3 separate regions of the Homo sapiens genome follow, and all the other regions are linked to region 2. Evidence: promoter capture Hi-C in human tissues and cell types (Jung and others, 2019). All regions are on one chromosome and are shown on one strand. The core of a region is centred on a gene start or on the middle of the fragment in contact, and the rest is flanking DNA. Distances in the headings are between cores, read along the strand shown. Region 1 overlaps TMEM132D (transmembrane protein 132D). Region 2 holds the start of TMEM132D (transmembrane protein 132D). Region 3 has its middle 110 kb from the start of TMEM132D-AS1.

Evidence for each region. The method cuts DNA at HindIII sites, captures the fragments that hold promoters and counts their contacts. A contact is called where the count stands out against the background at its distance.
Region 1: a contact is called between a fragment that was not itself captured here and the fragment with the promoter of TMEM132D in region 2, in 2 of the 25 tissues and cell types used here (lymphoblastoid cells and mesendoderm cells).
Region 3: a contact is called between a fragment that was not itself captured here and the fragment with the promoter of TMEM132D in region 2, in 2 of the 25 tissues and cell types used here (H1 embryonic stem cells and dorsolateral prefrontal cortex).

What each region holds. Positions count from the first base shown.
Region 1 is chr12:129,321,634-129,324,770 of GRCh38, reverse strand. All of the region lies in intron 4 of TMEM132D (transmembrane protein 132D), which reads left to right. Among named protein-coding and RNA genes, the nearest start is that of TMEM132D-AS2, 110 kb to the right of the region's middle. The HindIII fragment of the contact is 7,193 bases long and covers 1-3,137 here.
Region 2 is chr12:129,902,574-129,905,426 of GRCh38, reverse strand. It overlaps TMEM132D (transmembrane protein 132D), which reads left to right and starts at 1,402. Exons shown (of 9, transcript NM_133448.3): 1 at 1,402-2,166. The coding sequence starts at 2,088. The HindIII fragment of the contact is 10,076 bases long and covers 1-2,853 here.
Region 3 is chr12:128,999,771-129,003,043 of GRCh38, reverse strand. No RefSeq gene overlaps it. Among named protein-coding and RNA genes, the nearest start is that of TMEM132D-AS1, 110 kb to the left of the region's middle. The HindIII fragment of the contact is 5,326 bases long and covers 1-3,273 here.

The sequences.
Region 1 (3,137 bases), core at 331-2,830, 580 kb after region 2:
CTGCAACCTCTGCCTCCCAGGTTCAAGCAATCCCTGCCTCAGCCTCCTGAGTATCTGGGATTACAGGTGCCCGCCACTATGTCTGGCTAATTTTTTGTATTTCTAGTAGGGATGGGGTTTCACCATCTTAGCCAGGCTGGTCTTGAATTCCTGACCTCGTGATCCACCCACCTCTGCCTCCCAAAGGGCTGGGATTACAGGTGTGAGCCACTGCCCCTGACCATCACTTTTTTCTTCTGCAAGTTTTTCAAGAAATTAAGGTAAAAGTAACGTTGAATGTCCTCTAGGGATGAAAAGACTAAATAAATCTATGATATTTTACATAGTAAGTAATAATAGCTGTGTTGTGTGTGTGGAGTCTAAACTCTTCTATCAGGCAGGCACCAAATGGCAAAATGCTGCATCTGTTAGGACCTTTTCAAATTCAAACCAAACTGGTTTATGCAGAAATCAGAATGTATTGGTCCACTGTTTAAGACTGGATTCGCTTGGTTATGCGAACAGTCAGACTGTGTCCAATTAGGCCATCAACCTACCCTAAACTGGTAACAATCACCAGATACCCAGGCCAGGCTAAGACAGACTTCCTAAACTCATCATAACCATGGGGACAGTATCACCATAACTCACTAAGATCAGCTTCCTGTAAATGCAGTCAGTAAAAGATGGATACTTGGATAAATTCAGGCTTCCAATAGAAAGGAGCAGAAGCTGGGAAACACATGAAGTTTGAAAAAAAGAAAATCCTCAGCCAAAAAATCACAGGACAGATATGGTTATATGGAATTTTGGGTGAAGGAGGTAACTGCTTTTCCATTTATTTACAAAACAAATCTTAAAACCTTCAAAAAAAAAAAATAAAACCTACTTCCTATAGAAAATGTGCTTGAAAAATCAAAATAATAGAGAGGCATGTGAAGAAAGGACCTACCCACTATTCCTCATTAATGAAACACACGTGGCTAGACAGGGAAGAGATGACTCCTGCCTTCAAGATGACATGGCTAGCACTGTGACCCTGAATGAAGCCAGCATACCTGTCCAGTGTAGCTGGTCATTGATACCTAAATCAAAGTGCTTGGTTGGTGATATGCAACATTGAGGATTAGGCTTCAGCTAAGATTTAAAGCTTTGAAATGTATTTTTTTTATAACCTGTGAACTTCCCATCAAAAAGGATTTGACAAACATGTAACAGTGTTTTTTGACAATCTTAAGCTCCAGGCCAGGCTACCTCTAATCACATTTTCCTAAAGAATCAGCACTTTTCTTCAGAATCAATTTAATTTTCTTCGGTTCACCAGCAGTGGTTTTTTGGTTTGTTAATTCATCTAATGCTAGATATTTTTTTTCTGTTTGTTTTTCTCTTTGCAGCATGTTCACAGAGTTTGGTGTTAATCCCCAAGGCTATAGCAGGTGGATTTATATCAATTTCTCTAATGAAACGATGGTGTGCATCAGAGAATATTATGCCTAGATCAGAAAAGATGGGAAAAGTTGCTATTTACGCTTTTTTTTTAAATTGTAAAAACACGAGTAAGGTAAATAGGAATGGGAAGAAGGGACATTTTAATGCCTTATGGGTAGCTGTATCATTAAACAACAGAAAGGCCTCCCTGCAGTAGAATTCTTTAAAATTACTACCTAAGGGATATGGTAGTTACAGTTCAAAGTGACTTTTTACAGAACTTATTTTTCCTAAACCTGTCAGCAACAAACTGGAAGGAAATACTTAAACTGCACTGTATGGTTCCACGCAGATCTATTTTCCTGACAATTTTTAAATGGAAATGGAGCCTATTCGTCCTCATGAATTTGCAGTTATATGCAAGTATAATAAGACAACATATGGAAAAGCAATGCAATGATTAAGGAAAGGATTTTGCAAAGCATGTTAACAGAGATCTGAGAGTCCTATCTATTAAATCTGTCATTCCCATTTTGAAAATGTGTGTGACTAGCCAGTTAATTATTTTACTTAATGTGAGAGTATTAAGTATTACACACCTCTTACTGTATGCAACAGATTCATCTTTGAAAAACAGAAAAGTTAAATTCTTTCCTAAGATATCAAACAGGTGGCAAATTTAGCCTTCTAGTGTAACAACCTTGGTGTAATGATGGAACCTAGAACCCATATCTTTCTAGAAAAAAATCCTTCCTGGATTTAAAGGAATTTGCCTTGTAGTAATAAAATTGGGAGATAGTAATAAACATGCAATTCAACCACCGAGAAACGATTCAGCTCTACAAAATAAACGGAATGTCTTCTTTATTAAGTGTCTGGACAGTTGTTGCATGTTGCTACCTGGTTCACACCATGCAGCCTCTTCACAAAACATTGTATCAATGCTCTACCATCAAGAGAAATGGCCATCATGGCATGGCCATTTTGCAGATGAGAAAATTAAGGCTGGTGGAAAGAAAATAAGTTACTGGAAGTCACATGAGTAACATGGATGTCTGGCTCCAAAACTGATGCTTTTACATCACCAGGATTTAAGCATGGAACTATATTAGTAAGAATATACAGGGCCAATGCAGCAAAAGGCATAGACATGTCTGTGTGTCCGACAAAAACCAGGAAGGAAACATTCGTCCCACGTATGGATAGATTGAAAAGGTCATTGTATCAATGCTCTACCATCAAGAGAAATGGCCATCGTGGCTATTTTGCAGATGAGAAAATTAAGGCTGGTGGAAAGAAAATAACTTACTGGAAGTCACATGACTAAAATGGATGTCTGACTCCAGCACTGATGCTTTTACACCACCAGGATTTAAGCATGGAACTATACTAGTAAGAATATACAGTGCCAATGCAGCAAAAGACATAGACATATCTGTGTGTCCGACAAAGAGCAGGAAGGAAACATTCGTCCCACGCATGGATGGACTGAAAAGGTCTGCCTCGGCCGGGTGCAGTGGCTCACGCCTGTAATCCCAGCACTTTGGGAGGCCGAGGCGGGTGGATCACGAGGTCAGGAGATCGAGACCACCCTGGCTAACACGGTGAAACCCCGTCTCTACTAAAAATACAAAAAAATTAGCTGGGCGTGGTGGCGGGCGCCTGTAGTCCCAGCTAGTCGGGGGAGGCTGAAGCAGGAGAATGGCGTGAACCTGGGAGGTGGAGCTTGC
Region 2 (2,853 bases), core at 153-2,652:
CCCACCTTGACCTGCCGAGATAGCTCTGGGGTGGGCCCAGCAACCCAGGTCTAACAAATTTTCCAGTGACTCTCCTGCTGGTTCAAACTTCAGAAACAGTGAAAGAGACAATCTCTTAGGGTCTTTGCAGCGTCGACTCTTAGGAATTTTACAGGAGAGCAATACAAAGAGAAAAGGCAACAAGTTTAAGAAACAAACAAAAGAAAAAACAGAAAGACAGATATATTCAGATAAGTAGATACAGAATAAAAGACAAGAGCACATCTCAAAGGACATGAACCCAGAAAAACAATCTTCGGTAGAACAGCAGTGGCTTTTTTGATCTTCCTTGAAACTTTGAAAGCTAAAAACTCTTAAAGCATTGGTATATTTCTGCAACTACAGGCATACAGGATAAAAAAGTCCATTGCCCCCTCAGTCAGATGATAACGACCCATTTTTATCTACTGAGGTGAATTCACCTCATTAGATTCAGGGCTTGTTGGTTTACAATATTCCTTAAAAATTCTGAATGCTTTTCTTCCCTCTGAGCTTTGATGGGGTTAATTTAAAGGCTCTCGTGGAGCAAAGCAGTTCTTGGGCTACAAATTACAGGACGGTGCTTAGGGATCTTGGTGTGGGAATGTCTTAGTTGGAGATTCCGGGCGGTGTTGAGAATCATGTCTTTTATCTTCTCAAAGCAATGTTGTCTCCTAATGGATCCATTTCCTTTCCCAGTGAGCCCTGGGGAGCACACGACATGTTTCTAGGGACACTAACTTGGGGGATCGCTCTGGGAAGGGGCTTGGGGCCAGCATGACCTCAGTGTGGCGTGTCAGAGACTTCCTCACTGCGATCCCTGGGAGATGCGCAGGGCGGGGCGAGGGCCCTTCTCCAGCCATCCTTGCGCTCTCCCTGGCGAAGAGCCTCAGGTGCCCCCGGGCTGGAGGACCTCCCCTGGGCCTGAGGTTTTGATGACGACGAGAGGCCGGTGGCCAGCTGGACACCTGTTGGGAGAGTGGGTGGCTCCGTCCCCGGGGTGCGCCCGCGCTGGGAGCCCTCGCCCGCCGCCACCGCGCGTCCGCGCTCGCAGGGAGGGTGGCCGGGAGGCTGGGCGTGGGGCGGCCAGGGGGAGGTGGGATTTACTTTGCGGATTGGGGCTCACAGCTGTCACTCCGAAAGGGTGGGGCTTTTTAAAAGCAGACAAATTTTTAAGGCGAAAGCCCCAGCCGGCTCCGGGCACCGTGGCGATCGCCTCCGTTCCGTTCCGGATGCGGTCCTTGCGGAGCGGAGCCCCCGCGCCTGCTGGCAGGAGGCAGCTGCGTTGCTCGGCCGCGTCCCCGAGCCGGCGGGCCCTCCTCCGCGCACATCTGGCCCGCCTCCCCCGGGCGCAGGGGGGAGCCCCGCGTCTCCGGAGCCTGCAGTGCGCTCGGCGCGCGTAGAGCCCCGCGAGCCCCAGCCGGGCCCGGGGCCGGGCGGGCCGAGGCGGCGGCCGGGGAGCAGCCGCACCCGCCAAACTTTGGGTGCCGGAGCGCGCGCGCGCCCGAGCCCCGAGGCGCAGCGGCCGGCCTGGGATGGGGGCTGCGGGCCAGGGAGCCCCGGGCCGCCCAGCGAGCCCGGCCACCCGCCCGGGGGGCTCCGAGCCGCCTCTGCCCGCGTCCCGGGCTCCGCAGCCCCGCCACCCCGGCGCCGCCTGCGCCAGCGCCCGCTAGCCAGCCCGGGAGCAGCTGGAGCCGCCGGAGCCCTGCGCCTGGAGGCGCCCCTCCTTGGGCCACCGGGGGCCACTCTTCGCTCGGGTAAACAGGAAAGGAAATACCCCCTGTGGATTAAAATTTAAAAAAAATTCTGTTGGGGTCGAAGGAGGGAGGTGGGGTTTGCCTGCGCGCGTGTTGGACTCCGGAGAGCAACTCAGGAGCCCGCGCGGTCGTCGCCTCCCGGCCTGGCCATGGACTGGCGGGAAGAGGGAGCAGGGCGCCCGGGCTGCTCGGGCCCCTAGCCGGGCGCTCCCTCGCCACCGGCCCCGCTGCGGGCCTCTAGGGGACTGAGACGGTCTCTTGTTCGCCTGGACGGCGCCGGGGAGCGGAGGATCTGCGCTCCGGGTCTCCAGGATGTGCCCGTCTGAGATGGGGACGCTGTGGCACCACTGGTCGCCGGTACTCATCAGCCTGGCCGCCCTGTTTTCCAAAGGTGAGGACGCCGCGGCCGCCAGGGCCCGGGGACTAACTTCGCCTGGAGTGAGTGTGTGGGAGTGTGTGGAGGATGGGGGCGGCCGGGAGAGAGGGCTCGTGTGCAAGTGTGTGTGCGCGCTTGTGTGCATGTGTGTGTGCGCGCGTGTGAACGTGCGCTCGTGCGGCAGCCAAGCTCCTCGGACGCCCCTTGGCCGAAGGTGCTTGTCCTGGAGCACTTGGGTGGGAGGCCTTAGGTGAGACTACTAAGGAGCCGAAAGGAAAGGAAGGCTGTTTCCTGAAAGCCTTTTCTGTAAAGGGAGAGGGCGTGGGGACCCTTGAGAGGAAAGGTGGCCTCTGGAGGGCCGAGCCGGCTGTCGGGGGAGGAGGGGATTGAGATGACCAGGGAGATTTCTGGAATTTGGGATTGACTTTCCCTGGTGGCACTGACCTATTTGGAAATAATTTTGGAGCACTCCTGTTGTATGGGAATACTATTTTGTGTATTATAGGCTGCCAAAAATATAGCCTGGGGGGCGGCTCTGAAGAAGGGGGATGGGTTTCTCCAGGTCTGCCGCTGTGAGGTTTGGGCACAGGGTCTGGCGCTCACCCTTCCGTAGGGTGCTGGGAGCAGCAGCGGCCCCGCAGGGTGCACGTGGAGTTTCAGCTACAAGTTGTGACCCGAATTTTCCCAGCGGAGCCCTGACTT
Region 3 (3,273 bases), core at 459-2,958, 900 kb after region 2:
CTCCAGCCTGGGTGACAGAGCAAGATGCTATCCCAAAATAAATAAATAAAACCTATCATTACCTGCAATTATCTTTTTTTAAATGTACTGGCTTACCGGTTCATAGTTCGACTCTACCTGTTAAAACACAACCCCCCATGAGGACAGGGAGCCTGCGTTTCTTGATGTCAGATTCCTTAATGTGCAGAAGTGCATTTGATGCATAATAGGTGCTCAAAAGCTGTTAAATAAACAAATGACTGGAGGAGTGAACCCTTCTGAGGCAAGCATGCATGAGATCAGAAAGGATGGGCGCTGGAGAGGTGGAATGGGCCTGGGGATAATAACCCACCTCCCTGGGAAAGAACAAACCATGAAAACACCGACAAGTCAACCAAGACCAAAGCAGGAGACAACGAATGCTCAGAGTTCACGCCAAGAAAGCTGCCCGGCCACTCAGCAGGACACCAGATAGAGCTGTTGACTTTCTCGTGACTTTGCATCTGACCTGAAAGAACAGGAGAAAGAGGGATACTTCCTGGAATGATGAAATTACACCGGACAAGTTAATGAAAAATTCTCAGTTCCCACTGAGGCATTAAATAGTTGATTTCCACATGGAAGCCTCCATCGCTTGTGACAAACTGTTTCTTTATTTTTTCCACAGAAATGTTAGAGACGAAAAAGATGAACCAAGAAGACCTCCCTTGACTGCAGCCTTGCCAGTGAGCTTCATTGCTCACCAGTGAAGATTCAGCCAGCGGAGGAAGAACAGGAACATCCAAAGATGGATTATGCTTTCGCTTCCAATTAGAATGGGCTGTTAATTACATGTTTTGAATTGACTTGAGTTATAAATTGCTCATAGAGAAAGAGAGCTGTTTTCCTTTTCCCAAGTAATTCAGCATTGCCACCTTCCATCGGCAAAAAATAAAGTCCTCTCTTGAGAGATTTTCAAATTTCAGTAACTGAGGTTGTTAAACAAGAAAAGGCAAGTTTAGCTCTGAGAGCTCAGAAGTAATTCACATTTGGTTAATTTGGGACTCTCAGGCTGGCCATTATGTCTTTAGATCACTCGGGTTGACTCTGAATTAAAGCTGGCATCCCAAATCGCTGCAATTAATCTGCTGAGTACACTCGCCACCGAATGTCAGGATTTCACTCTGTAGGGCCTTCAAAAAACTTGGCATGGCTGATACACTGACAGCCGCAAAACAGCTAATTTCAACTGAGTTAAGAACTGCAATGGCCATATTGATCCGTTAAACACCATGCCATATTTGAGTGGGAGGTTACTCCCGATCTCCCTCTTAAAACCCTCACAGATTAAAGTCATGTGCCCGTCTGTGTATGAAATGAACATTTCAACGTTTAATCCTGGAGCACTGTATTTGAAGTGTGCCCGACCTTTATGTCCAACTCTTTCTTTCTGCCATTTCATTAAGTACTGGCTAGAAGACCAAAACACAGCCTTAAGCCAGAAGCCCAGGAAATACCTACACAACACATGTTTTGAGCTTTGGATCAAGATTTCATGAGGTTTTAGGATGAAATATCTCCAGTGAGACGCCGGGGAAGAAGATGGAAAGGTGCCCTTCATGTTATGCCATGCCTTCAGCTAGTTCACTCCAGAAATGACACATTCGCCCCTCCTGTTGGCATTTGGACCTGGTAGGAACCAGAGACACAGTCACTGAGGGATGAGTCAGAACTTAGTAATTATGTTTTCTGCTTCATTCCCTTAATTCATTTTAAAATATCATGTTTTAATCTACCAAAAAATGCTCACTTTGGAAAACCTGAAAAACTACAAAAAAAATGCATAAGAAAATAAAAATTACTCATAACCTTATCACCCAAATACACACGTGCATACCACTACAAGCTCTGGTTTATGCATATGTATGCATCATTTCAATAAATATATATACATGTTTACCTATTCTATATAATAAATATAAAATATATATATGTGTGTGTATGTGTGTATATATATATATATATGTATATATATATATATGTATATATATATATATATATACCAAGTAGTTCTAAAGAAAGCTTGTGCCAAACTACCAATGACAATCCCTCTAGCAGCACGTGAGAGCTTGGTGATTTTAAGGTGTTTGCGTCTTTAGCCGGCACTTTGATGTCTTCCTTTCTTCCACCAACCTGCCTTCTAATTCCACAGGGCAGAGAGCAAATGCTCTGACTGATTTCATCAGTATTCGGTGTAAAATGTCCCCGCTTCCCATCCTCTCGCCCCCACCCCTGCTATAGCAGTGGCTAATTGCCTAAGCAATCCACATAGTGGACAGCTTATTCGTGCAGGGGGCCCAGGTGCGTTGAGAAGCTCTGGAGGGTGACATGCACATTTTATTCTGGAAACATGGAGGTCCTGGGTTGGCACATAAATGGATGGTCTTAGCTTGGCTAAAATGTATCTGCACTGGTGTAGTGGGTTGAATCGTGGCCCTCCAAAGATATGTCTACCCAAAACCTAAGCATGAGATCTTATCTGGAGCACGTATCTTTGCAAATATAATGAAGGCAAGAATTTTTTTTTTGAGACAGAGTCTTGCTCTGTCACCCAGGCTGGAGTGCAATGGCACGATCTCAGCTCACTGCAACCTCCGCCTCCTGGGTTCAAGAAATTATCATGCCTCAACCTCCGGAGTAGCTGGGATTACAGGCACCCACCACCATGCCAGACTAATTTTTGTATTTTTAGTAGGGACAGGGTTTCCCCATGTTGACCAGGCTGGTCTCGAACTCCTGGCCTCAAGTGATCAACCTCAGCCTCCCATAGTGCTGGGATTACAGGCGTGAGCCACTGCACCCAGCCAAGGTGAGGATCTTGAGATGAGGTCATCCTGGATTTGGTCCTAAGGCTGAGAATGAGGATCCTGACAAGAGAGAGAAGAGGAGAAGACAGAGAGACACAGGGAGGAGGCCACGTGAACACAGAAGCAGAGATAGTAGCAATGCGGCCTCAGGCCAAAGAACATCTGGAGTCAGCAGGAGCTAGAAGAGGCAGGAGGGAGCCTCCCCTAGAGCCTCTGAAGGGAGCACAGCCCTGGCCATCCCTGATTTCAGATTCCAGCCACCAGACTGTGGGGTGACAATCTCTGTTGTTTTAAGCTTCCAAGTTGTGATGACCTCTTTTTTTTTTCTTTTTTCTTTTTTTTTAAGACAGAGTTTTGCTCTTGTCGCCCAGGCTGGAGGGCCGTGGTGCGATCTTGGCTCACTGCAACCTCTGCCTCCTGGGTTCAAGTGATTCTCCTGCCTCAGCCT